2 separate regions of the Homo sapiens genome follow, and region 1 is linked to region 2. Evidence: promoter capture Hi-C in 16 types of primary human blood cells and fetal thymus (Javierre and others, 2016). All regions are on one chromosome and are shown on one strand. The core of a region is centred on a gene start or on the middle of the fragment in contact, and the rest is flanking DNA. Distances in the headings are between cores, read along the strand shown.

Evidence for each region. Contacts are between HindIII fragments. The CHiCAGO score rates a contact against its expected background, and 5 or more counts as called.
Region 1: a contact is called between the fragment with the promoter of LCE1F here and the fragment with the promoter of PRR9 in region 2, in 2 of 17 cell types (M2 macrophages and M0 macrophages). The highest score is 5.5, in M2 macrophages.

What each region holds. Positions count from the first base shown.
Region 1 is chr1:152,773,761-152,776,460 of GRCh38, reverse strand. It overlaps LCE1F (late cornified envelope 1F), which reads right to left and starts at 1,321. Exons shown (of 2, transcript NM_178354.3): 1 at 1,271-1,321; 2 at 1-111. The coding sequence starts at 89. The HindIII fragment of the contact is 9,364 bases long and covers 1-2,700 here.
Region 2 is chr1:153,216,258-153,219,001 of GRCh38, reverse strand. It overlaps PRR9 (proline rich 9), which reads right to left and starts at 1,418. Exons shown (of 2, transcript NM_001195571.2): 1 at 1,383-1,418; 2 at 1-877. The coding sequence starts at 857. The coding sequence ends at 507. The HindIII fragment of the contact is 3,256 bases long and covers 1-1,526 here.

The DNA.
Region 1 (2,700 bases), core at 72-2,571, 440 kb after region 2:
GGGCACTTCGGTGTGGGGCACTTGGGAGGGCACTTGGGAGTGCACTTGGGAGGGGGCTGGCACTGCTGCTGGCTCTGCTGGCAAGACATCTCGGTGGCGGGTGTTCAGGAGCTGAAGGAGGGTCAGACAGCAAGTTAGATGGAGGCAGAGGACACCCCTGCCTATTCTTGTCCTTTCTGCATTATTTCTAGATCCTTCATTTTGAAAGCCTTATATCAAACATAGGAAAATCACCTCTAATGTTTTTATCACTCTCAATGTTTACCAAGTGCTTTCATTCATGGATTCTCATTTCAAACCTTATTTGAGATGTTGTCATGCAATATATAATCTCCAAATATGTAAATAAAGTTTCTGCTCATTAAAAGCTCCTAAGTGTGGGAGAGAAGTCCAGGAAATAAATTGGCTCCGGGCCAGCATTCATTCTATCACATCACCAAGAATTCTGAAAATGTTCAATGTTGAGACCAGTTTAGAGATGAAAATCTCTTTAAGGAAAAATCAAAATAAATTTCTATTGGAAGAACTGATATATTTCAGTTTGCAGAAATAGAGAAAACTATAACCGCAAAGGATGTTGGAGTCAATTTGTTCCAACCAACTCAATATATAAATAAAGAAACTGAAGCCAAAAGAGGTAACTTCACTGGCCCAAAGTTATTCATTAACAGTCACATTTGTTCCGGGGTCCCCTGGTTCCCATCCTGGGCTCTGCCCTTTAGCACATCCTGCCTCCCCAGGCCTGTCCCCAGGCACTGTCACATGGCTTTTAAACTCCAGTGTGCACTCAGTTTTCCACTACAGATCTTCTTGTTGGCATCTAACAAGATCCACAGGTGTCTTTGATCCTTTCTTCCTCTAAGTAGCAGTGTTCTCAGCATATCTTTTCTAAAAGTGAGTATGTCTGTATTTCCAAAATTATATTCCCACTATGCAGCCCACTCTAGCAACATCCAGTGGCCAATGTGTTTATTCTCTAAAACCAGAGAAACACACTGAGCAACTGAAAACAATTTGGTTCCTCTAAATCTGTGTCATACAGCCCTTCAGATCTTACCAGTTCTTCTTAATCTCTCTCACTCCACCCCACCCCTCTACCTCCTCTTTCCAATTTTCTGCCCCCACCCCATTCCTTGCCAATCACAATTCCAGGCCCCTGAGGCCCTGCCTAGACTCTACTCCTGCCCTGGTCTGAGTATCCATCCCCTCCTTCCCTGGCCTGGGCATCCCTCTGTGGAAGCCCCTGCTCCTTTTTCCAGGGCACACTTACCAGGATCACAGGCAGCACAGGGTTCTTCAGCACCGCAGGAGGTGAGTGGATGGGATGCTCTGGCCCTGAGCCCTTTTATTCTGTCCTTGGGTGCTGCCTCCAGCGGTGAGACAGAGCCTGGGCATGAGAGGACCTGCCTCCCGACACCCACATAGGTCTTGTGACGAGTGGTGACTGGCAGTTCTGCATATACCGTCCTTCATTGGTGTTCAGGGGAGCTGCTGTCAGCTAGGAAAGAGCTTGGTGGAAATGGGGGCTTGTGGTGGGTGAAAATGGACATCATGGTTCCTGGAGTCCTCCGTGGCCTATTTCCTATGAAGATGGCTCTCTTCACAGTCTTGTAGTCACACTTATGAATTCTGCACAAACAACTCATTTTTCCTTCTATTCTAGATACTAATTTTCCATCTAGACCTTTGGGTCCATATAGCTTGGTTAAAAATCCACATGCCTGCATTATGGGGTTTGTCCATGTGCACATGGGCATGTGTGTGCATCATAGAAGTCGAGAAAAGAGGCCTTGGAGACCCTGGCAAAGTATTCAATATTTTTGGCCATTGGCTTTCTGATGTTTTAAATGAAGATAATAAGAGAAATATCTTTTCTGCAGGATTTACAAATTAATTAAGATAACAAAGGGGAAGTAGCTGAGATAGTATGTGGCATGTGGTTATAATTAGGAAATGGATGAATAGGTAGATAGATAGATAGATAGATAGATAGATAGATAGATAGAAAGAAAAATAGAGGCAAACCTGAGATTTTAATGGACATTGGGAATTTTTAAAGTCACAGGTGCCTTTTAAGTTAGGTGGCTCTTATTAAAACTAAAGGCCATTTTTTTTTCCTCCTACGTACCTCAGTGAATAGGGCTTTCTGAAGGTAGATCCAGAGTGGGTATAAGAAAAGAGGACTAAAGGATGTATATTGCCCCAAATTATAGCATAAAAGAATTTGCAGTTTCCTGAGGAAAAGCTGAAGGGATGAGGTAAAATAAAGATGAGAAGGGTGAAGAGAAGAGAACAGCCAATGAGGTGGCTTTGAACTGTGACTTGGAGTGGTGTAGTTGGTATAGACAAGAATAGACATAGTCAATATTTAATTTGAAATTATTGGCTTTGTTGCAATACACATTTCCTGGGTTTAATTTCCCAGTTTCCCATGCTCAAAACTAACCAAATGCAAAATCTAACAATAAAAAACCAATATTTGAAAAATAAATATGGTCAAAATTACATATAACATCAAAGAATTATTGGATGGTTTTAGCAGATTATAAGTTGCAGAAGAACAGATCGGTGAACTTGAAGAAATTGTTCAAACTGAACTGAAGAAAGGGAAAAATATTAAAAAAATGAACAGATGATCAGTGACCAGTGGAATAATATCAAACATTCTAGCACCCATGTATTTAGAGTTTCAGGAAGAGA
Region 2 (2,744 bases), core at 169-2,668:
GACAAAATCACCAAATTTTTGATTTTTGAAACACCGCAAGCCGCTTTGTCTCAACACCTGTGGTGGTGGTGGTGGTGGAGGTGGTGGTGGTGGTGATAAGTGGAAAGTCCATCAGAATTCAGTTTGTTTTGAGGCTTATTTGAGAGCCTGAAACTCTGAAAGATGAATGAAGGTATCCTTGGCTGTTACACACCCAGAGCTGGGTGAATTTTTGCACCAAGGAAGCTGTGCTAGGCTTCTGTGGTCTTCCCTGACAACCACACCATTCCTACATTTGAGACCTTCCATCAGACTGCTGAGAACAATGCTTATTCACAGAGGGTGATGAAATACAGAAAGAACTGTCTTCAGAGACACAGACCAAGTCCTGGAATGCTAAGGAAGCCAGGAGGCAAGAAGGTACATTGCACACAGAGGTACCCACAGAAGAAGGTCACCAGAGCGTGGGCTGGGGTCAGGGTTTCATCTGCTGGCCATCTTCTTGAACCCAGATGACATATGAGCAGCTACTTTCCCTTGCCAGGGGATGAGCACTTCTCCTGGACTTTCTGTGGGCAAACCTCCACACATTTTGTCTGGAATAGCTCCTGGCATGGCTCTGCACACTGAGGTGGACACTGGTCTTGGCATGGAGGTAGGTATGGCTCTTGGCCTTGCTGTGGGCATTTTTCTTGACTTGATTCCTGGCACTGAGAAAGACATACCTCCTGGGCCTGCACTAGACACTTATCTTGGCAGGGGTGCTGGCATGTGGGGAGGCACACCTCCTCAGCCTTTGCTTGGCACTGCTCCTGGGTCTTTGGGAGGCATGGAGGGGGCACACATGGCTGCTTGCACTGCTGCTCACTGAAGGACATCCTAGGGTGATTTGCAGAGCCTGAAAAAAACACAAGATTCGAAATTATCTGTATTAAAAATATCAGCATGGGAACTGGGGAATGAAGGGTTGAGAAAGAGGAATGAGGAGTGGATGGAAGAACTAATGGAATGGAATGAGGAGTGGAAGTAAGAACTAATTTCTTGGCTGCTTTTTATCTCTTTCTCTTTTCTATCCTGGCTGCAGCTCCCTGTGGCACCTGTCTCCAAAGTGGGAGTGTTCTCCTGGCCTCTGTCTAGACATCCATAGCTCCAAACCCCAGTCTTACCACAGGTTTTTTTCCCTTCTCTTCTAGTCTACGAATCCTTTTGAAAATCAGGTGCAAGAGACTAGACTAGATAGGCAAATTCTAGTCTGGATAGAATATACAGGATAGTTTGTGAGGCCCAAGAAATGGCAAACCACTTAAAAAATCAGTAGAAAGTACAGTCCATAAGAGGAACAGAACAGCGGCCGCCTAAAGACAGAGTAACAGGGAGAGAGAGGGCACAGATGCCCCACTTACCTGATCTTCAACAAGACTCAACAAAGGCTGTGGACTGTGAAGCCCAGCAAGGTGGGACTTTTATATGTTGCTTAGTCCAGCCTCCCGCGGGACTGACTGGTCACATGGGCTGTGGTATTAATTGTGGAGTCACCATAACAAGCTTCCTCTGAAATTGCCGATGGTTTGAGTCACTGCTTGGGATGCCTGTTAATCAGACTGCATTTTGGCCTGTGGGTCCTCACCAGACCTCAGCAGGGAGGGGCTTCTCTCAGATCTCTCTCATCAGAGGCAGCAGGAAAAGAATGTTCATAAAGTGTTATCTCAGTCTGTTCAACCAGGATTCCTTGTCTGCCCAAACTGGTACAGGATGTGGTGAGAGATAAGATCCACCTTGCTCATCTCATCTTCACCAATGGGAAGATTTTATGCCTAAGGCCTGGGGCCTCTCTGGGTCAAGGGCTTGTATGGCCTGTTGCAGACACTTCTTCATCAAGCCTAGAAAGTCACCCTTCAGATGCAAGGATGAAGGCTCGTCCTGTGGTTCCAAGCGAACAAAGGGCTTTCAGCCTGCTGAAGAGAGTGATTTTCCTGCGTGATGGTCTTGAGGGAAATTGCGGTTCATTTGTTACTCTTGGGTTGTGAAGTGGGGTGAAGGGGAAGAGAGAGGAAGGAGAAGGCAGACAATCTTCATCTTCTCAACCTTGATTTATGACACCCTTATGAAAGTGGAGTTACTCACAGAGTTTTCATAGTGACCAGGAGAACAGGCTGGAACAAAGTTAACTTGTCTCTTTGCCTTCTGGAAAACGTTTTCTTAGAACTCAAGTCAATAAAAGTCAGGGGATGAAAGGAAAAGTTTCAAAGCAAACACACCCAGTTTTCTCTACCTCTACTTTCTAGTTTGGGCTGTTAGTTTTTACCTGGTGTGTTCTCCCTGTGCCTGTGGGAATCCTAAGCATTCTGCAAAGCTTTACTCATGTCTACCACCCTCTGAGAGCCTTTCCTGATTACTCTAAACCAGAAATGAATCCACCTCTTTATGCACTCCCATGGTATCTATTATTTATATTATTCATATGACATTTACTATTGAAATTAGGACTTTCCAGATATTTATATATAGATCTTATTTTTTCCTGGGTTATAAGTTCCTAGAGGATAGGTACTATGCCATAGGTATAGTAAGTGGAAGATGATGGAAGACAAATGATTATTGATGGGGTAAATGTATTAATGAAGGAATACAGAAGGTGGATGTGGGAGAGCTGGGAGTAGAGGAAAATCTCATTTAATTGAAAATGGGAAAAGATTTACTTTGAAAGAAGCCCCCATTTCCTTAAAATGGTGGTTCTGTGTTTGCTGAAGTTGACCAAATTCAAG